Linked DNA regions of Homo sapiens: all the other regions are linked to region 5. The links are contacts of gene promoters, found by promoter capture Hi-C in blood cells and fetal thymus (Javierre and others, 2016). All regions are on one chromosome and are shown on one strand. Each heading gives the region's core, a stretch centred on a gene start or on the middle of the fragment in contact. The rest is flanking DNA. Distances are from core to core; before and after follow the strand shown. Region 1 holds the start of KCNQ1 (potassium voltage-gated channel subfamily Q member 1). Region 2 overlaps KCNQ1 (potassium voltage-gated channel subfamily Q member 1). Region 3 overlaps KCNQ1 (potassium voltage-gated channel subfamily Q member 1). Region 4 overlaps KCNQ1 (potassium voltage-gated channel subfamily Q member 1). Region 5 holds the start of KCNQ1-AS1 (KCNQ1 antisense RNA 1). Region 6 overlaps KCNQ1 (potassium voltage-gated channel subfamily Q member 1).

What was found. Contacts are between HindIII fragments. The CHiCAGO score rates a contact against its expected background, and 5 or more counts as called.
Region 1: a contact is called between the fragment with the promoter of KCNQ1 here and the fragment with the promoter of KCNQ1-AS1 in region 5, in 4 of 17 cell types (erythroblasts, non-activated CD4 T cells, M1 macrophages and 1 more). The highest score is 7.0, in erythroblasts.
Region 2: a contact is called between a fragment that was not itself captured here and the fragment with the promoter of KCNQ1-AS1 in region 5, in 6 of 17 cell types (M2 macrophages, M0 macrophages, M1 macrophages and 3 more). The highest score is 6.8, in M2 macrophages.
Region 3: a fragment that was not itself captured here is called in contact with the fragment with the promoter of KCNQ1-AS1 in region 5 in 4 of 17 cell types (total CD8 T cells, naive B cells, M1 macrophages and 1 more); the score reaches 5.5 in total CD8 T cells.
Region 4: a contact is called between a fragment that was not itself captured here and the fragment with the promoter of KCNQ1-AS1 in region 5, in 7 of 17 cell types (naive CD4 T cells, M1 macrophages, erythroblasts and 4 more). The highest score is 6.3, in naive CD4 T cells.
Region 6: a fragment that was not itself captured here is called in contact with the fragment with the promoter of KCNQ1-AS1 in region 5 in 17 of 17 cell types (megakaryocytes, M0 macrophages, neutrophils and 14 more); the score reaches 15.7 in megakaryocytes.

Annotation. Positions count from the first base shown.
Region 1 is chr11:2,442,545-2,446,711 of GRCh38, forward strand. It overlaps KCNQ1 (potassium voltage-gated channel subfamily Q member 1), which reads left to right and starts at 2,464. Exons shown (of 16, transcript NM_000218.3): 1 at 2,464-2,940. The coding sequence starts at 2,555. TRPM5 (transient receptor potential cation channel subfamily M member 5) reads right to left here and starts at 1,970. Exons shown (of 29, transcript NM_014555.4): 1 at 1,887-1,970. RefSeq lists silencers at 2,264-2,373, 2,384-2,453. The HindIII fragment of the contact is 13,739 bases long and covers 1-4,167 here.
Region 2 is chr11:2,595,559-2,599,653 of GRCh38, forward strand. All of the region lies in intron 10 of KCNQ1 (potassium voltage-gated channel subfamily Q member 1), which reads left to right. Among named protein-coding and RNA genes, the nearest start is that of KCNQ1OT1, 100 kb to the right of the region's middle. The HindIII fragment of the contact is 572 bases long and covers 1,933-2,504 here.
Region 3 is chr11:2,507,320-2,511,440 of GRCh38, forward strand. All of the region lies in intron 1 of KCNQ1 (potassium voltage-gated channel subfamily Q member 1), which reads left to right. LOC124902613 (a long non-coding RNA gene) reads right to left here. Exons shown (of 3, transcript XR_007062553.1): 2 at 2,835-2,958; 3 at 2,142-2,407. Among named protein-coding and RNA genes, the nearest start is that of KCNQ1, 64 kb to the left of the region's middle. The HindIII fragment of the contact is 396 bases long and covers 1,053-1,448 here.
Region 4 is chr11:2,572,264-2,576,478 of GRCh38, forward strand. KCNQ1 (potassium voltage-gated channel subfamily Q member 1) reads left to right here. Exons shown (of 16, transcript NM_000218.3): 6 at 583-723. Among named protein-coding and RNA genes, the nearest start is that of KCNQ1OT1, 130 kb to the right of the region's middle. The HindIII fragment of the contact is 2,481 bases long and covers 11-2,491 here.
Region 5 is chr11:2,859,014-2,863,160 of GRCh38, forward strand. It overlaps KCNQ1-AS1 (KCNQ1 antisense RNA 1), which reads right to left and starts at 2,556. Exons shown (of 3, transcript NR_130721.1): 1 at 1,977-2,556. RefSeq lists an enhancer at 3,946-4,147. The HindIII fragment of the contact is 10,846 bases long and covers 1-4,147 here.
Region 6 is chr11:2,540,684-2,544,746 of GRCh38, forward strand. The region is part of intron 2 of KCNQ1 (potassium voltage-gated channel subfamily Q member 1); the gene reads left to right. Among named protein-coding and RNA genes, the nearest start is that of KCNQ1, 98 kb to the left of the region's middle. The HindIII fragment of the contact is 9,571 bases long and covers 1-4,063 here.

The DNA of each region.
Region 1 (4,167 bases), core at 1,214-3,713, 420 kb before region 5:
CTAATATAAAAAATGCTGTTTTGACTATCATTATGTATATGTACTTTTCTATTTTTCCTACATATCTTTGGGTTATTTCCTAGAAGTGGGGTTTCTGTGTCAAATGATACATTTAGTAATATCGCTAGGTCTCTTTTCTACCAGTGATGAGGAGTGCACCTGTGCCTGCTGCCTCTCCCACAGAGTTGCCATCAAAAGTCTGGATTTTTGCCAATCTGATAAGCAAGCAGTGGTATCAGAGTGTACTTTTCATTTGCATTTTTCTTGTTATAAATGAGGTTGAACATTTTTTCATAAGTGCAAAGGTCATGAACCCCATTTCCTATGAACTGCTCATGTCTTCTGCTCCCTTTTCTATAGGACTGTCTGGCAGGTTCCTCACCTCAGTTTTGATGTTCTTTATGTATCAGTGATATTAATCCTTTGTGATCGAAACTGCAAATACTTTTCCCATTTGGTCATTTGTCTCCTTTACTTTGCTAATGGTGCTTCTATTTTAATTTTTCTTATTTTATCTGTTGCTTTTGGATTTCAAGTCATAGTTGGAAATGTTTTCCCGATTCACAGGTTCTTGAGGAATTGACCTGTACATTCTTGTAGAATTTGCATGGCTTCATCTCACCCTTTACACTTGAGCCTCTGATTCATTTGAGATTTATTCTCGTGTGCGGTGAGATGGACCCAAGGTATGCTTTTTCTTTCTTTATGACTGTCCAGTTGTCCAAACGCTGCTTATTCAAAGCTCACCTTCCTCCTGCTGAGGTGGGAGGGGAAGGCAGAGACTCCATGCAGGTGTATGTATGTTCACCCGGAAAGTAACTGCTGAATGCGTGCTGTGTGCCCTGCAGAGCTGACTGACTGCCCCCATCTTCTGACCCGCTGCCCTTCTGCACCTTCACTGATATGCTTCCCAGGAAGGTACCCTCTCCTCGGCCTCCCTTGTGTTATCACAGCGCCCAGCACAAGCTGGGACCCACTCCATCCACTCTTGCTGCAAATACAGACTGTGCACTCCTGTGTGGCACCTCACTAGGGTGGGGAGTCAGGCGTCAAGGGCCTGGGCTGGACTCCGTCCACGATAAAAGAGCAGACTTTTGGCAGGGGGTGGTAGATACATCAAATTGACCCAGGGTGCTCAGGGACGACCTGGAAGTGTCACATGAGTTATGGGTCTCCTGGCGGGGCGGAGAGTCACCGCTGAGCTCCACCTTTAGTCCCTGCCTCAGGGCTGTGTGCAGTATCCTGAAAAAAGCCGGTCTCTTCTGTTGGCTGCCCCCCACCCCCCCCCCAAGCCTGAGACGTGCTGAGACCCAAATGCCAGTAGCGGGCGGGAGGCAGTGCAGAGACCTGTGAAAATCTTCCGATGTGACCAACCCACCCCCACCCAGGGGAATCCACGGGGCGCAGCGGCAGCGCGGTCTCGACGGTGGGGAGGACAAGGCGCCCATTCTCCAAGTTACTAGGGTGGCGCAAGCGCCTCTCCCTTTAACTGCCCAGGCAGCCCCGCCTGCTATGCCCGGCAGTCAAACCAGGTCCAGACCCCGGCTGTGCCGCCCCCACCCCCCAGCAGCCCTGCCGGCTCCCCACCCACACAGCTCCCACTGGGAGGTACCTGACAGTGGTGGTCCCATCTCACCCTCCCGGTCCAAGGGCCCTGGTGGGAAGCGACCCGAGCGTATTCGCCGCCCGCAGCTCGCGCGCCTGGGCACCCGGGGGCGCTCACAGTGATCGCGGGGCCAGCACACCCTCACCCAGGACATCCCTTTCCTCCCCCCAACCCCAACTCCGGAGTGGCTCAGAGGGAGGGAAAGTAGATGCCGGCACCCTACCCCGCCCCTCCTGCCCCCGCTGTGCCGTTCTCGGTCGTGGTATCGGCCAGGCCTTACCCCTTCCTCCCTGGCGCAGCTGGGGTCCTCCTCCGGGCCAGGCAGAGCAGGCGGGCATCAGAAGTGGGGGCCAAGCAGGTGGGTGAGGGCAGGGCAGGAGCAAGCAGGGGAGATGCAGACGGGGCGGGGCCAAGCAGGTGGGTGAGGGCGGGGCCAAGCAGGTGGGCGGGGAGGGGGCGGGGCCAGGCGGGGTAAATGCACACTGGAACGGGGCCAAACAGGTGGGCGAGGAGGGGGCGGGGCCAAGCGGGATAGATGACACGAGCGGGGCTAAGCAGGTGGGCTCGGGCGGGGGTGGGGGTGGGGGCGGGGGCGCAGGCGGGGGCGGGGGCGCGGACAGGCCAAGCCAGGGGGTGAGGCGGAGGCAGGGCCAGGCCGGTCCGTGGGGAGAGGGCGGGCCAAGCCGGTGGGCGCGGGCAGGGACGCCCTGTGCGCGCCGGACCGGCGGGGGCGGGGCGTGCAGGCGGGGGCGGGGCACGCCGTCCCATGGGACCGGCCCTCGGCCACTGCCCCCTCCGGCCCCGCCCCGAGCGCCCGGGCTGGGCCGGCAGCGGCCCCCCGCGGCGGGGCTGGCAGCAGTGGCTGCCCGCACTGCGCCCGGGCGCTCGCCTTCGCTGCAGCTCCCGGTGCCGCCGCTCGGGCCGGCCCCCCGGCAGGCCCTCCTCGTTATGGCCGCGGCCTCCTCCCCGCCCAGGGCCGAGAGGAAGCGCTGGGGTTGGGGCCGCCTGCCAGGCGCCCGGCGGGGCAGCGCGGGCCTGGCCAAGAAGTGCCCCTTCTCGCTGGAGCTGGCGGAGGGCGGCCCGGCGGGCGGCGCGCTCTACGCGCCCATCGCGCCCGGCGCCCCAGGTCCCGCGCCCCCTGCGTCCCCGGCCGCGCCCGCCGCGCCCCCAGTTGCCTCCGACCTTGGCCCGCGGCCGCCGGTGAGCCTAGACCCGCGCGTCTCCATCTACAGCACGCGCCGCCCGGTGTTGGCGCGCACCCACGTCCAGGGCCGCGTCTACAACTTCCTCGAGCGTCCCACCGGCTGGAAATGCTTCGTTTACCACTTCGCCGTGTGAGTATCGCCACCGGCGACGGCCGGCACGAAGGTGCTTCCTGAGAGCTGGTGTGGGGGAGCTCTGTCCCAGCGCCACCTGCCCCGTCGGAGCTGCGACCCCGGAGCAGAGGAGGGAAGGAAGTGGGGAAACGCAGAAACACAAACTCTGCACTCTCCCTTGAAGTTCAGAGGCGCTGCTGTGTCTGGGGGTGCGCATCTTCTCGCAGGCCCGGCGTGGGGAGGGAGCCGGCTGGGGAGGGGACCACCTGGAGCCCAGAATTTGGCTCCACACCTCCGGGAGGGTAGTCCAGGTGTGAATCCTTCTGGGAAGAGAAGCGTGCTGGGGAGCGCACCCTTGGGTGCAGTAAGATAACTCCTCAAGGTCGGCTGAGACTCGAGGCTCAGGAGCCCCCAAGAGAGAAGGCCCCTGATGTCCGGTGCCGCATCTCAGACCCCCTGAGGCCCAGGTGGACTCTGGGGCAGGGGGCTGTCCAGGATAGGAAGGTGACGGTGGCGGTGCTCCCTGAGGGCTCAGCATGCCACGGGCCGTCCCCACGGGCCCCACATTAACTAATTGAACCAAGCTCATGAAAACCTGGCTTGATGCAGAGAGCGGAGAGGCACGTTTGCAGCTCTCACTAAGAGGCAGCTGTGCTCCCGGAGAAAGCAGCGCTGGTAGCAGAGGCACCTGGCCCCCCTGTTACCAGGTGGTTCCAATTCCCGGTACAGCGTGCCTGAGCAGGGCTGGGCACTGGATTTCTCAGGGACAGGCCTGGGAAGTCACCTCCGGGAAGGTCCAGGCTGCTCTCCTCCATGCCTGCCTGGGGCCTTCCCCCGCTGCCCCAGTGGCCCTACTTCCTGGCTGCCCAGCCAGCGGCCTTTTGGTGTGGTGCCAGCCTCTGGCCTGGGAGCCTCTACCCAGACATCCCATGGCTGATGGCTGTGGGGCTCACCTGAGGGCTGAAGGGTGGTCTCCCTGAGCGTCCTCAGGTGGAAGCATCTCCTCTGCCTCGGGCAGGCTCAGTAGAGAACTGGCTGGAGGGCATCCAGAGGCCTGTCCATGCCTGCTGGCAGCTGCCACCAGGGCCTCAGGGCGGGTGACAGCAGGAGCCAGGCCCCAAATGGCTTCAAGCATCGTCTCAGGTGAGGGGGTGGGGTAGGGGTCGCAGGGCTACTGCCTTCCTTGCTAAGAGGTGGCCTTCCACATCAGGAAGGGGAAGTCTTACCCACCTCCCTCCTCAAAGA
Region 2 (4,095 bases), core at 969-3,468, 260 kb before region 5:
ACATCTGTTGACAACATGGTTTACTGAATATGTTGAGCCCATTTTCGAGACCTATTGCTCAGACAAAAAGATCCCTCTCAAAATGTTACTGCTCATTGACAGTGCACCTGGTCATCCAAGACCTCTGATGGAGATGTACAAGATTAGTGTTGTTCTTATGGCTGCTAACACAACATCCATTCTGCAGCCCATAATCAAGGAGTAATGCCAACTTTGAAGTCTTATTATTTAAGAAATACATTTTATAAGGCTATAGCGGCCATAGATAGCGATTGCTTTGATGAATCTGGGCAAAGTAAATTGAAAACATTTTAGAAAATAATCACCATTCTAGATGAAATTAAGAACATTAGTGATTCATGGAAGAACGTCAAAATATCAGCATTAACAGGAATTGGGAAAAAGTTGATTCCAACCCTCATGGATGACTGAGGGGTTGAAGATTTCAGTGGAGGAAGTAACTACTGATGTTGTGAAAACTGCAAGAGAACTAGAATTAGAAGTGGAGCCTGAAGATGTGGCTGAAATATCATTAGTTATTAGAGAAATGCAAATAAAAAACACAATGAAATACCACGGCCCAATTATTATATTATATAAAATGAGGGAGATGGATGATACCAAGTGTTGGTAAAGATGTGTCGGAGGTGGAACTCTCATATGCTCCCGGTGAGAATGCAAAGTCCAAAGCGATGCAACCATTTGGGAAACAGTTCAGCAGTTTCTTGATGTGTTAAATACATACCTACCATATTCTACAGCGATTCTATTCCTAGGTATTTATCCAGGAGAAATAAGATCATATGCATGCCACCATTTGTACATGGAATATTCATAGCAGCTTTATAAAAACTGGAAACCCCAAACTGGAAGCAACCCAAATACCCATCAACATTTGAATAGATTTTTTTCAAAGTTGTAGTATATTCCTAAAATGGAATACTACTTAGAAATACAAAGGAATGAACCACTGATATGCCTACAATATGGATACATTGCAACATAATTATGGTGAGTGAAAGAAGCCAGACAAAAAAAAAAAGAGTACATGGTATCTTATTTATGTAAAAATCTAGAAAATGACCACTAATATAGAGTGACAAACAAGTCAGTGGTTATCAGTGGTTACCTGGGGATCAGGGGTAGTAGTAGGAGGGAAAAGGACAAAAGGGCACAAAAAAACTTTTGGGGCAGTGGATATGTTCATTATCATAATCATGGCGATGGTTTCATCATGTGTCAAAAGTTACCAAATTGCACACTTTAAACATAAGCAAGTTATGTCAATTATATCTCAATAAAACTGTTTATAATATATAATGTAAATATATAATATATATTTTGCATAGCAAAAAAACATACTGAAAATAATTTTTTATTGATAACCTAAAGAAACCAGTTGCCACTCACCTATAGGCATGGGGCTAATTTAATTGCTATATAAAAACGCTCTTGTAAATCAAGATAGAAGTTAAAGGATATTAAAACAGTTCACAGAAAAGGAAATACCAATAATTCTTAAGAATGAAAATATGCTGGATGACTTCAATTATGACAAGAGAAATGCAAACTAAAGCAATGGGGTTTTTGAAACTTATCTGATTATTAAATATCAAAGAGTTTGATAACACTCTATGGGTATGTGTACATGGAAACTCTCAGTCTCAGTCATTGATGTTAGAAAAATAAATTGATACAAACCTCTGTGGAGATAAATAAGGCAATTTCAATCAAAATTAAAGATGCATATGCCTTTGAATCATTCTAGAAATTTATTCTACACATATCTTACACATTTGCAAAATAATCCATCATCAGGATATTGATTTCTGCAATTGTTAAATAGCAAAAAATTGCAAACCACCGACATACCCATCAGTGGAGGTCTGCTTCAAGTATCATATCTCCGTTAAACAGCCATCAAAACTGTGAAGCTTCACTCTCATCACTGATGCAGGACATCCCTGATATCTGATCCTAGAAATAACAGTACATCTTTCAGAAGAGTATGAAATCTGCCATCATGTGGGGGCAAATACAATGGTTTACAAAACAAAGTTTTATCTACCTTCCTTGTTCTGTGTCTTGGAACTGTTTGAAGAACATTGGGATTATCTTTTCTGTAGAGGTTAAATAGAATTGAGTTGTAAAACCATCTGGGCCTGATACATGTTTTATAGGATATCTTTAGTAATTTCTTTTTAGTCTGTTTTATGATATGTTGTTCTAAATTAGTTTATTGCATCTTTTGGAGTAATTTATTCATTGCTATTTAATTTCCTCAAGCATTTCAATTGTGTTGCCACTTGGTAGCAACTGATTTTTTCCTTTAGTGATTTTATGGTCTTCTCTATCATCTCTTCGTTTTTCTTTTCCTTTATGCCTGAACTTTTGTGGTTTTTCTCCTTTTTTCTTAATCAAGCACATGAGAAATTTATGTTTTATTTATATTTTATTATCAGAAAACTATCTTTGTACTCTTTGTTATCTATTTCATTAATCTAAGCTTTTATAGCTATTAATTCCCTTTTCTTGGCTAACTCTATTTTTGTTTTCTTTTACTTAAGAGTCATAGTTCATTTATTTGAAGTTCTTCTACTAAAGGCATTTTTAAAGGCTATAAATTTTCCTCTGATTGCAGCTTTAGCTGTGACACGTAGATCTGATTATGAAATATGTTCCTTTTCATTGCTTTCTTGATAGTTTTAATTTTGTGTTTTGATTTTTCTCTTTAGAGTTCTTTTAATGTCTTCTTAATTTTTAAGCAGTAAATTTTTATCACTGTTATTTATTTCTAATTTAGTAGGCTTACAGTGAAAGGATGTAGCCTATGAAGTCTCCACTTTTTTTAAAATGAAGATTTTCTTTGTCTCCAAGTATGAAAATAACATCATTATTTTTGTAAATGCTCCACAGACCTCAGAAAATATCTTCTGTATTTGTATAACACAAAGTTTTATTTGTATACATGGACAGACAAAATGTACATTGAGATGGATTGTGTATACATACTTATTCATTGCCTCATTTAGGTCTGCTCTGCCCTTAGTTAAAAAAAAAAAACCCTAATACATCTGCCAAATTCTGAGACAGGAAAATTAAATCTTCCTGTACAATTATGTTTCTAAAAATTGAGTGGCAGGTTTCATGGAGTGGTTTGGAGCACAGCCTATATGGCCAACCTTCTTTAGGGTCATAGCCCAGCTCTGCCATTTTCTTATGTGGCCCTAAGCAAGCTACTGCATTCTCTGTGCCTCAGTTTCCACATCTGTGAAATCAGGATCCTAACTGCCTGCTCCCAGGACTCCTGTGTTGACTGAGTGAGTTAGAACATGTAAGTGCTCACCCAGGACCCATATGCAGCAAACAGTCTTGTGTCTCTGTCTGCTGCCAAATTGGCCTCAGGCTCTATCAATACCAGATCTGAATAGGGGCTATTCTTTCTTTTAGTGTCCTTAATGTTGTATTACTTTCCAATATTCACACTTTAACTTTACAGATGAGTAGAATGGAATAGATGTGTTTCAGTACAGAACTTTTTTCTTATGTTTGCTTGGGCTCCCCTCCTCTCTGTTACCTATGTTGATAATCTAGGATTTGTTGTCTTACATTTTTCCTGATGTTCATATAATATTCAATGAAATAAAATACATGTGACATAATGAAGGCATTATCATTGTTTTCCAAACTCACGGGATCATATCATACCTGCTTTCTGCATCTTGTTTTTCTCAATCAGTAAAATAGTAAAAATGCCTCTAAGGCTGCTGAAACAATTTTATTTTGATTTAATTCTATCTCTAATTGAATTTTATTTCTATTTCAATTCTATTCTAAAATTTATAATCTCTGCTTAATTTCCTTTGGTGTACATACTCTGTGATGTTCTCTATCGCTTAAAATTCATTTTGTTCAAGAACATAGGTTCTTGAACCTGTTTCTATGTACAGAACTTTTATTTCTATGTGTTAACTTTCCAGGATGTATTAGTTTGCTAGGACTGCCATAACAAAATACCACAGGCTGGGTGGCTTAGACAGCAGACATGTATTTCTCACAATTCTGGAGGATAGAAGTCTGAGATCAAGGTGTCAG
Region 3 (4,121 bases), core at 1-2,500, 350 kb before region 5:
CTCTAAGTGGAGCATGGAGTGTGGGGTCATCGGGCAGGACACGAGATGCGCAGGAGGCTGTGACTGAGGTGGCTGTGGGATGGGACGGCGTGGTTTGCTCTAGAGGGTTTGAAGGAAGGGTGAGAAGTCAGGACCACTGCTGTAGAAAACAGGGTTTGCAGGTAGATAAGGTGGCGGGTGCAGCGGGAGGAAGAGAAAAGGATGCTGCTGGGACCCCTCGCACCTGGGAGGATGCACTTTCTGTTTCTGACATGGGTCAGGGTTGGGGCGAAGGAGTCCAGCTGGGGACATGTTATTTTGGAGGTGTTTGTGAGGCAGCCAGGTGAGGTGGGTTGAAGGCAGTAAGACCTGCAGGTGGGAGCTCTGGGGAGAGAGTGCGGGCTGGGCTCACAAGTTAGGGGAGGTGTCAGTGTGTAAATGACATGAGCGCAGGGGCTAGACAGGGCCTCCTGTAGCCTGGGTGGGTGGAAGGGCAGAGGGCAAGGGCCAAGTGATGGCAGCTGTGGAGGCTGAGGGCAAGGAAGGCAAGTCCGGGAGGTTGGGTGTCCTGCAGCCTCCACAGGGGCAATGGAGGAAGAACAAAGGACTCTGTGTTGAGCCCTCCTGAGAGGTTTTGGAACTGGCCTTGACTTGGTGATGTGGGGTTATGAGTTTTATTCCACACACGTATGTGGGAGTCTGGGTCCTGGTGGGTCCCAGCCCCGTACATGGAGGCTGGGACCCTGCCCTGAAACCTCTCAGACACAAACACCCAGCTCGGCCCCACAGAGCTGGCCTGGGCCCCAGCAGGGGTCTGTGTTGCCTTGGCCCCACGGCAGTGGAGCTGGGGTTTCCCAGGGATGCTGCTGCTGAAGGTGAGGTTTGCAAACACTAGGCATGCATGTTTGAGGTACCACAACCTCCACCAACCCATGGTGGTCACCAAGGGTCTTTGGGCTCCTGTGGGGACCATACTGGCTTGTCTGACTTGCCGTTACCCGGCGGAGATATGTCTTGGAAAGACTTTAGGCCAGGAGCCCATCATTGTCCTGGAACCTGGGCTTGGCAGGGCAAGCTTTGGGGAGCACTGTCCAGACAGTGCCCTGGACACTGCACCTCAGGTCAGGACACAGCTCCCGAGGCCTGGCTGCTCTGCATGGGGAGGAGTGTGGGTCCTGAGTGGAGTGTCCCATCTGTCATGCAGAGAGGGTGATGATATAACCAGCTGGGTGTTCGCACCTGAGAGGTTTCGGGGCAGGGTCCCAGCCTCCATGTACGGGGCTGGGACCCACCAGGACCCAGACTCCCAGACTAGCAGGTGGGCTTCTCAGAGCACAGAGGGTGTGGGTGACCCAGATATCCTGTTGTTGCTCAGAGACCCCCAGGGAATCCTTGAAGATGGCAGTGACCACCTGGCTTCCTCTATAGAAACTCCCCGAATGGGAGGGATGGGAAAGACTGTTGAACTAAGCTTTTTAGGAAGAAAGCCATCAATTCCCCTGCTCTCATACAGGCTTGAGGAGGGCTAAGGAAAGTCACAGTTGAATGCATGCTCCCTCCACACCCATGTGCCTGATGCACACAGCCTGGCCCTTGTGGGCACTGGAGGGCACCCTACAGTCACAGAGGCAAACGAAGAATGTAGAGCTCCAGCTGGATGAGGGCCGTGGGGAAGGGGCACAGCCCTGGGCAAGGGTGTGCAGAGTCTGCATGGGATTTGACTGAGCAATCTGGAAGGCTTCCTGGAGGAGGAGCTATTGCTCAGGGTGAAATAGAGGTCTTGAAATTAGTACAACACATGCCCCATACTGGGGAATTTGGGGGTCCCTGGGGGAAGGACTCTGTTACCAAAAGCACACAGCACAGGTTGGGAGAGCAACTATCTCAAGGCTTTTATTTGCTGTTTCATGAAACTGAAAATTTAAGTTTTTAATATCACATATTATTTCATGAAGAGTGGCTTCGGACTTTGGGGTAGGGTCTGGTAGGATCCCAGGGCCCCTTCCCTTGGCATCATCATTGTTTCCCCTCCATGTTCAAGTTCAGCATCTCTGCACCCCTTGCCTGGCAAACCCCATCTTCCTGTCCAAAGCCAGACTTGGCTCCCTTTGCTCCAGTGAGTGGCCGTTGGCTGGGAGGCTGGGTCTGTGCTGTGTGGGGGGTGTTTGGTGTCCTAGGAGGAGTCTCTGTCCTGAGCAGAGACAGAGGAAGGCAGGGCAGCCTGCTCAGAGGATGAGCCCAGCTATTCTGGGAAGCAGGCAGGAAGTGGCAGCTCCAGGTCCGGGTGTGAGGGCAGTAGTGCAGGTCGTGGTCCCAGATGGCCACGGAGGTGTCAGCGTTTCACTCCCAGCACGTCACGCCACGTCCCTTTCCTCTGCTTTGTTCCTCCTCAGCTGTGAACTGTCTGGGACTGGGCCAGGAGACAGTCCTGGGATAGGGAAAGAAAAGAGGGGCTTCCGGGGGTGGGGAGCGGGGCTGGGCGGCTGCTGGCTGAGCCAAGTGGACTGGGAGGTGTGGACAGGGAACCCTGGCGGGGCCGGCCAATGGTGGCGTGATGCAGCCTGGCTTGGGAAATGCCCATGGAGGTGACAAGTGACAGCCGGGAACAGACCCACTGCCAGGGCTGCCTCTCTCTTTAGATATGTCCTGGCATCTGACTTTGGTTTCCTGGTGTTTAAAGGCTAATTGGGATCGGTCGTGGTGCCTCAGGCCTGTCAATCCAGTACACTGGGAGGCCAAAGTGGGAGGATTGCTTGAGCCTAGGAGTTCGAGACCAGCCTGGGCAACATAGCAAGACCCCATCTCTAAAAAAAAAAATTAAAATATTAATACTAGCTGGGTGTGCTGGCACATACCTGTGGTCCCAACTACTCGGGAGGCTGAGGTAGGAGCATCACTTGAGCCCAGGAGTTCAAGGTTGCAGCAAGCTATGATCTTGCCACTGCACTCCAGCCTGAGTGACAGAACGAGACCCTGTGTCTAAAAAAAAAAAATTTTTAAATAAATAAATAAAGGTTTGTTGGACATGTTAGCTCACGCCTGCAATCTCAGCATTTGGGGAGGCTGAGGCAAGTGGATTGCTTGAGGCCAGGAGTTTGAGACCAGCCTGACCTGCCTGGGCAACATGGTGAAACCCCGTCTCTACTAAAAATACAAAAATTAGCTGGGTGTGGTGGCTCACATCTGTAGTCCCAGCTACCCTGGAGGCTGAGGTGGGAGGATCACTTGAGCCCAGGAGTAGAGGTTGCAGTGAGCTCAGATTGTGCCACTGCACTCCAGTCTGGGTGTCAGAACCAGGCCCTTTCTCAAAGGAACAAACAAGGCTAACATGTTGGGCTTTCTCTGCTTCTGGGCAATGTCCGTGAAATTGAAGCCGCACTGGTGTTGTTCCACCCTTCCTTCCAGCTGGTCTCTGAGGCCCAGGCCAGATGCTTCTCTGGTTAGCAGCAGATTCTAGGCCAGAGCCTGCCTCCAGGTCCTGGGAAGGCTGGCACGCTCAGATGCACTCCTGGGCGTGGCCTTCCTCCGATCACAGTGTGAGCGAATCTCCCTGCCCATCACTCTGCTCCCCTGGCCCAGACCAGGCCATGCCTCAGGGCTTCTGCACGTGCAGTTTTCTCTGCCTGCAGGGTCTGTCCCTAGCTCTCTACCCGATTCAGATCCCACACCAGCTCCTGGGGCAGCCCTCTTGCCCTGCCTCTCCCCGAGACGTCACCCTTTCTCTTTTCCCCATTGGTGGTGGTTTTATGTGTTCATTTACGGTTTATTTTCTCTCTCCCTGTGTCTGTTATCTGTCTCTGCACCCCTGGAGCCCAGCGTGGTGCCAGGCACACACTACGTGCCTCCTGGGTTGGGGGCAGCAGGGACAAAAGCCAGGCATGGGATGTGGCTCTTGTGGGATGCACCTTGGGTGTGACTGTCACGGAAAAGGAGGAGACGTGGGGTGGGGAAGGGGGCAGCCCCTACTGTTCCTGGCAGCAGGGCCAGAATTGAGAGCCAGAGGTTGCCACTGGAGGGCTTCCTGGGGAGGCAGCTGGCACCGCCTGATTCCTGTTTCTGAATGCCCTCTCACTCTCCCCCACCCCCATGGAACCAGAACCACCTCGTCAGGCCCAGCAGCCCTTCAGGGTCAGTCTCTGCAT
Region 4 (4,215 bases), core at 1-2,500, 290 kb before region 5:
AGCAAGCCCAAGCTTGAGCCCAGCCTGGATGCTCCACCCCAGCCTGGTGCCAGTGACCCTGGCCTGCCAGGCTGATGGTGTGCTCACCTTCCTCTGAGCTGGGGGCAAATGAAGACAGAAAGTCAGAAATGAAAAACCCAGGCAAATCAAGGACCCGGTCAAGGCAGGGCCACCAGACTCCCTCCCGAGGGCTGCACTCAGATGGGTTCAGGCTGCACTGGCCCCTGGCTCTGTGGGGTGAGGGGACCCTTCCTCTCCCTGAGGATCTCCTGGGTCCTGGTCCATTCTTGGTTCTGTCACGTGGCAGGAAAGAGAGCTGGGCAATCAGTGGAGCCCGCGCCGGCCCAGACAGTGGGCCTAGGGCGACCCCAGGGCTGAGCCTCATTCTGGGGGTAACCCCCACCCGCCACTTACCGGAGTTGTGAGGAGTGGGCTATATTGAAGCCGGCCCTGTGCATGTGAACCGCGCTGGAGCGGCGTAGGACGCCCAGTGATCGCTGGGACTCGCTGCCTTAGGCGTCTGCACAGGAGGCTCCCAGCCTGCGGTTCCTGGAGCCCGACACTGTGTGTTTTCTGGCCTAGGAGCTGATAACCACCCTGTACATCGGCTTCCTGGGCCTCATCTTCTCCTCGTACTTTGTGTACCTGGCTGAGAAGGACGCGGTGAACGAGTCAGGCCGCGTGGAGTTCGGCAGCTACGCAGATGCGCTGTGGTGGGGGGTGGTAAGTCGGAAACTTCCAGGCATGGGGACAGGGGCAGCTCAGGCTGAGGAGTGGGCAGGACATCTGGGCACTGGTGTCTTGAGACTTCGGGCCTTGGCAGGGGCTTCTCACCTGCACGCTCACAGGCCTCTGTCCACAAACCTGTGCTTGGAGCCGCTGGCACAGGTCCCCACGCTCAGTGTTGAGTCCTTTGGCATCACCATCTTGAAGTTCTGAATGGTCTCATCCTTGAACTTGAGATTTGAGAGGGAAATCGGAGGGGTCACTGGAGCGTGTGTTGGGGGCTTAGCGGTTTCGGCTCCCCCATGGCTCTGCCTCCCGCCATCGTCCTAGGTTGCCCATTCCCTGCCTCCACCGTGGCCCTCACCCTGGCAGGGCCCAAGGAGAGCGGCGTCAGATGCATACCTCGCGTGTCTCTGAGGGTCCACACAGGCCCTGTAAGTGCCCCTGTCCCCAAGGAGCCAGACATGAGACAGCAAACAGGAAAGACCATGATGGCTCAAGAGACCCCAGCAGAGATCAGAGAGCCCCCGTGTTTCCAGTGGATGCTGGGCCTGCAAGTTCTGGAGCCGGGCCTGGGCAGTGGCGACATAGGTGCAGCTGGGCCTAGGGAAGCAGGGACCCGGCCTGTGGGCCCAGAGGCTGCCCCTGGCTGTGAAGGTGGGTTCCGGCCACCTAGAGCAGCCCGGGAGCCTTGGGGAAGCCGGTGTGCAGCAGGCAGATCCCGCACTGGAACACCGAGCCACCCAAAGCTCAGAGAGGCTGTGCGGGAGGGGTGGGGCAGGGTGTCTTGGGCCGTGTCTGTGGGGGCTTCCTTGAGGGACTCAGGCTTGCACGTGGGAGAGGGAGATGTTCCGATGAGGATGCAGCTGCAGGAATCAGGGTGCGCCCTCCGAGCTGCAGGCTCCCCAAGTCCCAAGTCACTGGCCTGTGGGCCCAGCAGCAGTTTCTCATGGCTCAGAGGACGCTGGCTGAGGCATTTTTAGGGGGCAGGCCTAGCTTGCCAGTGTCCCTCTGGGAGCTGGTGGCTGCCTTCAAATCCTCCAGTGAAAGTCGGCGTTTATATATGCATGGAGCTCAAGGGCTGCTTCTAGGGGGAACACGTGGGTACCCCGAGGGGAGTAGCTGGCTGGAGGCCAGAGTGCAGGGAGGGAATGACTCCATCCCATCTCCCCCCACAGCTGCAGGGCCAGGTGGGCCGTCCACAGGCCACTAAGGCCCAGGGTGGCACCATCACACCTTGGGGAGTGGCCCTGGGTGGGGACCGAGAAGCCCAAGTGCCGAGGTGACAGGGTGACCCCTACTCTGCCGCCACAAGCCTGCCCCCGCGTCTGCCCTTGTCTACCGACCTCCGGGCTCACTCAGTCCGATAACAGGTTAGATGGAATCGTGGTAGCAACAGGGGCTGGGGGCTGGGGAGGAGGCCGTCGAAGCCCACACAGGGTGGGAGCCAAGGCCTGGGGGCCGCACGGGGGCTGGAGGTGGGGGCGGGCAGGGCAGCCGTGGGAAACACGTGGTGGTGCCAGGACCCAGTCCGTCTGCCCCGAGTCCTCCTTCCAGAAAGGACCGGACTTGCTGGCTCTCGGGACCCCCCACCACCATCAGAGCATATCTGGGTGGGGTGAGAAGCCTCCCGGTGGCTCCCCAGGCAGGCACGTGTCCCTGCGATTGCTGTGCCTCCTCCCTCCCCCTCAACCGCCGCTTCCCCCATGAGGCCAGACACTCAGCAGTGGCTCCTGACGTAGGCCAAGTCAGCAGGTTTTCTGGAAGCTTCCAAAGTGCTGCAATGCTCAGGGATGGCAGGGGCATGCTGACACAGCTCCTGGGTTGGGGCAGGCCCCACTTTCGGCCTCTTCCCGCCTTCCTGGGGGCCTGTGTCCCCGAAGGCCCCAGTGTGGCAGGCCTGAGCAGGTTTGGGCAGCAGGGCCCAGCCCCCCTGCGGGAGCCTGCCTGCAGTGAGTGTGGATGGGTAGGGCGTGCTCGGGGGATGGACGGCCCAGAGCCAGGAGAGTTCCCGGGAGGCTGGTGGCAAGGTGGGCAGTGAGGAGCTGGCGGTGCAGCAAAAGCCAGTGGGTACTGGCCCCGGCACGGCTGATAAGCAGTGCCCAGCCTTCGCTGCTGCCCTGCCTGCCTTCCCAGCCGCCCACTGGAGCTGTGGGCAGCGGACGCTACTCCCCAGCCCCCCAGCCCGCAGCAGAGCGGCACTCCCACTCCCACACCTGTGCAAACATCCGCCCGCTGGCCGGGAACACGGCCCCTTTGTGCCCGGCTTGGCATCAGTGCCCCGGCCCACACCGTCAGCTGCAGCCCGAGCCTCGGCCATCGCGCGCCCTGGCCTGGCCATTGTTCCCGCCAGGCCCCGCGCCCCTGGTCGCCCTGGGCCCCCCACCGCCCAGGGCTGTGGGGCAAACAGCTCCCATTCAGCTGCCCTGCAGCTGTCTGGGGGGAGCGGCCCCTGAGGCCTGAGTTATGGGCTGTGTTCCTGGCATTTCTCGGACAAACAGAACTTGAGAAACGCAAGAAGGGGCAGCAGCCCAGATGGGGGCTTTTAAGCCAGTTTTGCCAATTTGCAACTGCGCCCTGAGCAGTTGTTTTCTTTCAGCTCCTTTGTCCTGCTTCCTTCACCCCACCGGGGAGTGAAGTACGCCCTCGCCGGCCAGGCAGCCAGGGCTGCTCCATGTCTGTCCGTCCGTCGGGGCTGCCACAGGCCCTTACTGGGTGGGAGGTGGCTTCCTGGAGGCCAGGCCATTCTGATCATCATGCTGCATCTGCCCCAGACCTTGCCTGGACTCTGTGGACTCCTCACCCCTCAGACACACCCTGAGAGGGTGCTGGAGCTGCCACAACAAAGTCCGCGAACTGCTGGGCCCAGAGCAACAGAAACTCATGGGCTCTAGAGGCCAGAGCCCGAAGCGAGGTGTGCACAGGGCCTGCCCCTCCGAAAGCTCAGGGAGAAATTTCCTCTCCTCTCCCCGTGGCTGGAGACTCCAGGCGTGCCCGGTGTGCGGCCGCCTCTTTCCTCTGTGTCAGGCCCTGTCTCTCATGAGGACACTTGCTGTTGGCTTTAGGGTCCACCCAGGTGATCCAGGAGGAGCTCATCTTGATTGAATCTTCAAAGAGCCTATTTCCAAATATCGCATTCTGTGGGTCCAGGTGAATATGAATTAGGGGGGATGCAGTCCAGCCTAGGACAGTGGGTGGCCCAGGTGGACTTCCTGGGAAGGTCCCTCCCCTTGCCGGCCACCAGTTTCCACAGCTGTCCAGCGAAGGCGCCGGCTCAGTGGTTGAGTGTCCCCTCCTGTCCCCTTCGCCGGGGTGGGGATACGCAACTTGGATGTGAGAACTCTCGAATCCCCTGAGTGTGGCGCCTGCCCTGGCTGCCAAGGCGTTTGGGGAGAATTTAAGACTTTTCTTTGCCCTTGGAACAAAATGCGTTTGTTTGTGTTAAAGTTTGAGTGGAGGGAGAAGCAGTTTTTGCAAACACGGGCTTCT
Region 5 (4,147 bases), core at 1,306-3,805:
TACCATCCTGCAGGACCTGAGACCACCAGCCATAGCTGGTCCCTCATCGCCTCCCCCTATCCCCAGCCCTGGCCTCTGCATTTGGGCAAAGGCTATGGAGGAAGAGGCTTTGGCTTTTTGGCCCTGGCTTCAGCCAAATCCCCCAAGCACCTCGTGGAGGAGAATGGCTGCACCTGGGAGCCACGTGGGCTCCATGGAGGCCCTAAAGAGACCAGGCCTCAGCCCCAGGTGAGGCTTAATACCCCCTCTCCAGGCAGAAAGTAACCATTTCTTTTCCAGTGGTTCTCCAGCTTAGGGTCTCCAGCCAGACTGGCCGCTTATGGGCCAGGTGTAAAGAGAGGGACAGAGGGGGCAGGGAAGTGCGAGTGTTCTCAGGCCACTGGGGCCCGTCCCCACCCACACCCAGTCATCAGCCCCAGGGACAGCCAGGCCCTCCGCAGTGCAGGGTACACCCCGATTCTGCAGCCGGGCCCCAGGGCCCAGTGCTTCCTCCAGGCTGCCCCGGGCTCCCTCCTGAGTGGCAGGCCCAGGCCCGGACTCTGGCCCCAACCCGCAGGCTCAGAGGCAGCCCTGCCTTCCACAGACCAGGCCACGAGTTGCCTGTCACTCAGCTCTTCTGCCTGGTTGGTCACACTGAAAAGAGCATCCCGTGGCTGGGAGGCATGGATATCAGCTCCAACTCGGCTCAGGAAGCAAGAGCTGGAAACCCAGGCGCAGGAGGCATCTTCAGGCCCGGCGCATGCTGTGGCAGCTGCCCCAGGTCCTCCCAAACGCCACCTGCCAAACTGGCCCTCCTCCCCATCTGGGTTTAGCAAACTCCTACTCATCCTCCAAAGCCCAGAGCGAAAGGGCTCCTCTTCCATGATGCTCCTCTTCCAAAAGCAGCCCAGGGTCTCCCCTACGGCACTCAGCACCCACCGCAGACACTGTCTGTGTCCTTGAAGCTGATCTCCCTGCCAGACGGGCAGCGGCCCTCGAGGGCATTGCAAATGGGATGCCTGACAAGAACAACCCTTGAGGATTAGGAAATAGGGGTCTGCTGGAAGCCAATGCAGGCTGGATCTGAGACCTCCTGAAGACAAAGCGCAGGGAGCTGTGCTCATGCTCACACTGGGCATGGGGTTCACACTGTCTGCTGAGGGCTGCTTCCCTGTCCTGGAGGATGGGAAGGACAGAGGGGAAAGAGGGGCTCACCCACATCCTGCTCTCTGCACAGTGCCCCCTCCAGCGCCTGTCCACACAGACCAGCCGCACTGCAGTCCCTCAGAAGCCCTAGGGTTCCACCCCATCTATGCACCCTCTCCCTGGGTTCATGCCTGCTCCCCTGGGCCCACCCCACCCATGCGCCTACTCCCCCCACAGCCCACCCATCCCCAGAACCCTCCTTGCCCACATGCCACAGCAGTATACTTTTGAAGGCAACACTGAAGGTGGGGAGTTTCTGAAATCCTCTGTGCTTCCATCTCCTCTATGGGCGCACCCCAAGAGGTTGGGAGAGCGAGGTGCTGGTGCCCAGCCCAGCACAGATAGATGAGGCCACCGTCCAGTCTACTTCGTTTTTCCAGACATCTCACACCCATAACTGGCCTGAGGAACCTCATTCCAGCTTCCAAAGAACACGGAGTGCCAAGCACCACCACACCCCAGGCTCCACACCTCCCAGAACCCTTGTGGTAGGGGAAGGAGGGGGTTACTCTGCCCCATTTACCTAAGGGAAACTGTAAGGCCTGGATGGAGAAGTGCCCCCCCTCCAGCTCACACGGCTACCAGGCCAGAGACCTTTGCCCCACCACACATGTTGGCCCACAGATGAGGCGGTGAGTCATTCAGCCACATCACAGACGGGAGATCCCCTGCCCCTTGGGAGGAGCTGGAGTCCCCACACCTGGGATCCAGTGCCAGGCTTTAGCACGGACCCCTGTGTGCCCACACCCACCCTGTCTGAACCCCCCATTAAGGGACTCGTGTTTACACACCGGTCCCTGAGTCCCCGATTTCTGAGAAAATTAATTGGCAGGGTAATTCTCACTAGAGTGTTGTTGACTTCTCCATTTGTAGCTTGCTCTTTCTGACAGTATCTGCACTGCAGAGGGAGAACCTGAAGAAGACCTCACCTGAGCTCCGAGGTGTGGATTTCTGGGCAGATTTGAGACTTTGTGGCCCCTGCTAAGGGGATATAATTGAGGGTCCCCATAAATCATGACTCGGTCTATGAGGAACCAGCACCTAGCTGCATCCCCAGCCTCTTCCTTCTTCACACCCAAGCAAAACCCCAGGTTCCAGCCCCACCTAGCAGACTGAGGGCAGGCCATGGTCCCCCCTGCTCCATTCCAGACTCCACTCTGGCTTTTCTCCTTCAGGAAACCTCCTCATAACCCTCAGGCTGGGTCCGGGGCCCAGGCCCTACAGATGTGCTGGGTGCTGGTGCTGACAGACAGGACGGCAACCGTAGCTGGACCTCACCCTGGACAGCATCGCCACAACCCCCACTGGTCCACCTGGGAGAACAGAGACCCAGAGATAGCCACACACTGTCCTCTGTGCCCCTCATTGCCCCCCAGGCCTTTGGAGGTTCTGGGGGTGGCTACTGCAGTTTAATTTGGGCCACAACCCCTAATGAGCAGCCCAACGGCATGGGGGGCAGTTTGTAGGCACCCAGAGCCTGAGCAATGTGGCAGAAAGTCCAGGGGGCCTTCCAGGGGCCTCCAAGTGACCCAGGTATCTGGCAGAGCCCAGCTGGCCCCAGGGCTCCCAGTCCCGGCCTCCTGCTCCCCGGCCCATTGGCCCTGGCTGCAGCCTCAGTTGTACCAGCTGGGGAGTCCCAGATTTCCTGTACCACCACCCCACACACTTGGTCCCCTAAAGACCTGATACTGAGCTCTTGCTAATCATCTGGCTGTCACTAAGCTGCCCCACAACCATTTTCAAAGAGTCCCTGATTTTTAAGGCCCATAAAACACTGTGAAATGGCCTTTTTCAAACATTGAGGGCATTAATGACCATGGCAAAAACAAAAACCTGTCCAGGTGGCCAGTTTTTAGTAGCTCCCAATACAAAATTGCCCCCACCACGCAGCCCCCACCTGTCCACGCCCCCTCCACTTACCCACCCCGAGGGATTCTAGCCAGGACCCCTGCGTCCTGAGAAATCCTTTCCAGGAGTAGGCTGGGGAATACCGGCCCAGAGGGGCGAGGACCGGATGGGGGCAGGGGTAGGGTTCAAGGGGCCAGGGTCCCAGGGGCTCTCCTGGAGGCTGCAGAGGAACCCAGCCTGGGTGGGGGGCTCCGACGCTCCACAGCCTGTCCTGGCCCGGCCAGGCCCGGCCCGGCCCGGCCCCCTGCCCAGTCGCGGCACTGCCCGGCCCGACCCCCAGACCTTCGGGGTGCCCAGTCCGAGCCTGGGCCGCTAGGGGCCGCGGGCCTGGCGGGCGGGGCGGGGGCCGGGGTCGGGGGTCCGGCGAGCTTTAATGCGCGCACAAAGCCTCATTTGCAGGTCAATGCCGCGGCACACTCGCCTCTCCCCTCGCCCGGCGCCCTTTGTCCGGCCGCGCCCGCTCCTCGCGCCAGATGGCCGCGGAAATGCTAATTTCGGGCGCCCCTGCCCCCCCACCCCCGCGTTTAATTGCGCCTTTGCAGATGGGCCGCGAGTGTGCGCTTCATGCAGATGAGCGCGGCCTCGCCGCCTTCCTCGGACCTCCGGGAGCCGCGGCCGGGCGTGCTGGGGCCGAGGGCAGGGAGGGGGCCGCTGTCCCTCCACTCGACGCGCCGCCGGGCACGGGCGGGCACCCAGCGGCCCGGGCCCGGGAAGCGCGCTTCTCTCTTTTCATTTCTCCAAAATGGGATCTTAAGTGATTCTGAATGAAAACAAATTGGCCCGCTTTCTTCTCCAAACAGACGCGCGGCGCGGTGGGGGCGGCGGGCGCGGGCCCGGGGCGGCCCGGGCGGTGGGGTTGGCTCCGGGACCCCCTGCCCGGCCCGGCCCTCGCGCCTTCTCCCCGCGGCCCGCCTTCCTCAGCCCTGGGCCGGCGGCACTTGGAGGCGGCCGGGCAAGACGGCAGACGTGGGGGCCCCTTTAACCGGAGCCAAGGATCCCCGGACTTTCTGACCAACCAGGAGCAGAAGCCCGCCAGGTCACCCTCGCCTTTCAT
Region 6 (4,063 bases), core at 53-2,552, 320 kb before region 5:
CTTGACTCCTGGCCACTTGGGAAGGTGCGTTCTGGTCCTCTGGGCCTCACAGCTTTGTGCCCTCTAGGGTGGCAATGGGAGGCAGAGAGCACAGCCTGGGGACTTGCTGTGAGGGGACTGCATTTAGATTTTTAGGTGAAGCCAATCCCTGTTGGGCTGAGAAAAGTCCTGGGCGGCTGTGAGCTGGTGGTGAGTTTTCCAGACTTGGTCATGGTCAAGGTAGTTGAAGTCGGGGGTTGAAAAACACACTCGTGTCCAGCCCAGATGCCTTATGGAGAAGAGGATGCACAGGCACACACGCACAGACATATGTGCACGGATGGGCGTGTGGACGTATGCACACATAGGTACCCATGTGGACACACTCACGTGTGTGTGCACGTTCAGGCTCAGACACGTGCCTGCATGCACACGTGCACACGTGCACACCCAGCCCTGGACCTCAGGCAGGCAGGGAGAGAGACCCCCTTGGGGCCGCGTTCCATTTGCACATTTAATCCAGAAACTGTCAGCATGGGAAGCCTGGATGAGAACAAAATGTCAAGTGTGTGCCGAGAGGCGCAGGCCAGCCCCTTTTCCTGGCGGGGTGATGATCTGGTCAGTTTCCGAGCACCATGTGCTGAGAATGATGCGTGCATTCAGAGCAGCATTTGGTGGGGAACCTGGGGGAAGGGCGGGCGTCTTTATTTCATTTTAGCTTTCTTTAGCGGGGCCTGTGTCTCTTCTCACTGACCGTTTTCTGAAACTGGCTGGGGAGGGTCAGGGATGGCTGCTGTCCTCGGGGGAGGGACTGAGCTGGGCCCTTTTCGTTGGTTAGTTCTCAGTGTGGCCTACCCAGCCAGGTCCCTGGACCTGGCGGTGGCTATGAAAGCCTGGGATTGAGGACAAAGCCATGGGGACGCCGTTTTCGGGATGCTTGTGAGCAGGGCTTTGTCCCCACCGTTAGGATACTCTGAACGTTCCCAGAAAGCCCCCTTCTGCTCAAGTTCTCTTGCTTCATCTCAGGCTCAGGTGTTTTGAGTTTTTTTTTTTTTTTAAATGAGGACATCTGTTAGACCACTTAGGAGTTCTAGAACCTTTGGAAAACCCCCTCTCATCCCGGGAGTTTGTAAGAATTTGTAGTTTCTCCCCAGAGTTCATGGAGCCCCTGTCAGAGGCGCTGAGGCCCAGGTCCTGTGGCTGGTCCTCGCATAGACATCAGCTAAGGGGGTTTGGGGGCCAGTCGGCAGCCTCTGGAGGCCTCTGCACCCCTCCTGTGAAAGGCCGGCGCAGAGCTGCACCGTGGGGTCCCCTGGCTTGGGGTGGGCCTCAGAGGCTGTCGCCGTGCCTGCTGTGGCTCTCCATGGCCCTGGAGCCTGGGATTGCAGAAAGACTCCCAGACCTTGCTGGGGAAACTCCAGGATATGGGGGTATCCAGACTCCTGAGACTTCCCCGTGGGTCCACACACGTCACCAATCCTCTCTGCACCTCAGCTTCCTCATGTGTGAAATTCAGGTCATATCAGGACCTCAGTTCCTGGGGCTGTGCCGAGGGTGTGGGGACATTGGGCATGAAGGTTCTCAGTCCAGAGCCAATGGCCAAGAGGGCAAAAGGGTGTTGGTGGACGATGCCTCCTCCCCTGGCGGGGGCGGGGAAGGAAGTGCTAGGGGAAGCCGGTGTAAGGGGCCCCGTGCCCACCAAAGGCGCGCTAATTGCGAAGGAGGGGCCTCAGCCAGGAACCGCCATAGCCTCAGTTTTATTTATTCTGCTCACTCAAACAAAAAATCAGCTTTGTTGAGGTATAATTGGCATAGAGTGGAAGGCCTTGTTTAAAATGTAGGATTTGACAAATCTGGACATGGGTGTACGCCACAGGACCATCACCACAATTGAGACAGCAGGCACATCCGTCACCCCCAGAAGGCTTCTCGCTCCCGTCGCTGGCCCCTCCTCCGCTGCTCCTGGCTCCGGAGGGGACCCCTGGTCTGTCTTGTCAGTGTAGACGGTTGGCGTTTTCTGGGGCTTGTTGTCAGTGCAATCATACAGTGTGTGGTTTTTATTGTCTGGTTCCATATTTGAGAGTCATCCAGGCTGTGGCATGTAATAATTCATTCCTTTTTCATTGCTGAGCCGTATCCCATTGTACGGACGCATTGCAGTCTGTTTATCCACTTGTGTGCTGGCGGACTCTGTATAAAAGTGTTTGTAGGGACTTATATTTCCTTTCTGCATGGGTAAATACCTAGGTATAGAATGGCTGGATAATGTGGTGAGTGTATATTTTTAACTATTTAAGAAACTGGCTAACTCATCAACCCTTGACGTGGTCCGTCATTTTCATGTTAGCCAGTCTAAGAGGTGTGCGTGGCATCCTGCTGTGGTTTTAACTTTCATTTCCTAAGGACCAGTGATGTTGAATATCTTTTCACGTGTTTCATTGGCATCCAGGAAACATCTTTGGTGACATATCTTTTTAAATGTTTCACCCATTGTAAAATTGGGCTGTTTGTCATCTGAGTTGTAAAAGTTCTTTGTATATTCTGGTTACATAGATATTTGTTTTACACATGTATTCTCTAGTCGGTGGCTTTCCTTTTCATTTATTTAGTAGTATCTTTTTTTTTTGTTTGAGACTGGGTCATGCACTGTGCTCAGGCTGGAGTGCAGTGGCGTAAACGTAGCTCACTGCAACCTCGAATTCCTGGGCTCCGAGGATCCTCCCACCTCAGCCTCCCAAGTAGCTGGGACTATAGGCATGTGCCACCACAGGTGCTAACTTTTTAAAGTTCTTGTACAGACAGGGTCTCACTTTGTTGCCCAGGCTGGTGTCAAACTCCTGGCCTCAAGCGATCCCCTTGCCTCGGCCTCCCAAAGCGCTGGAATTACAGGTGTGAGCCACTGCTCCAGGCCCAATAGTATCTTTTAAAGACCAAACATTTTCAATTTTATGAAGTCAAATATAGCTTTTTCCTTTTAAATATGTTTCATGCTTTTCACATTCTATTTAGGAAATGCTTACCAAACACACTCTTACTAAGATTTTCTGCTAGTAGTTTTATAATTTTTGTGCTTACCTTTAGGCCTAGGATGCATTTTGAGTTAATTTTTCTCTATCATGTAAGACATAGGCGGAGATTCATGTGTTTTTTCTTATGGATGACTGACTGGTCCAGTGTCATTTGTTGAAAAGAGTATCCTTTACCCAGTGAATCATCTTGACTCCTTTTAAGAGGTTCAGTTTATCATAAAATTGTCTCTTTCTGGACACTCTACTGTGATCCGTTGATCTGTCCTTTTGCCAGTCACACACTGGGATTGTTACAGCCCTATAATACGGTTAAAATAAGTTAGGGTAATTTAGCCAACTTTGTTTTGCTATTTCAAGTTGTGTTGGTTGTTCGGGGTCCTTTGCATTTACATATAAATTTTGGAAGCTGCTTACCAATTTTTGCAAAGCCTGGTAGAATTTTGTTTGGGATTGCATTCAACCTAAAGATCAACATGGGGAGAATTGATGTCTTAACCAATATTGAATCCTCTGATCAATGAGATTATCTATCTCATATATATATATGTGTGTGTGTGTATATATATATGTGTGTGTGTGTATATATATGTGTATATATATATGTATATATGTGTATATATGTATATATCTATGTATATATATGTGTATGTATATGTATATATATGTGTATATATATGTGTATATATATGTGTGCATATATGTGTATATATGTGTGTGTATATATATATATGGTTACATACCTAATATGTATATGGTTATATATCTCTTATAAGGGTTATATATCTCATATACATATGAGGTTATATACCACTTATTTAGATTTTTAACTTCTGTCAGAGATGTTTCATAGTTTTTAGTGTATAGGTCTTGTACATCTTTTGAGGTACCTAAGTGTTTCATATTTTTTATGCTATGGTCAATGGTATTTCTTCTAATCTAGAACTGAAATTCATTTTGACAAATTTATCTTGAATCTTGCAACCTTTCTAAACTCATTTGTTCCAGTGGCTTTTGAAAAAATGAATTCCATTGATTTCCTTATATGAATGATGTTT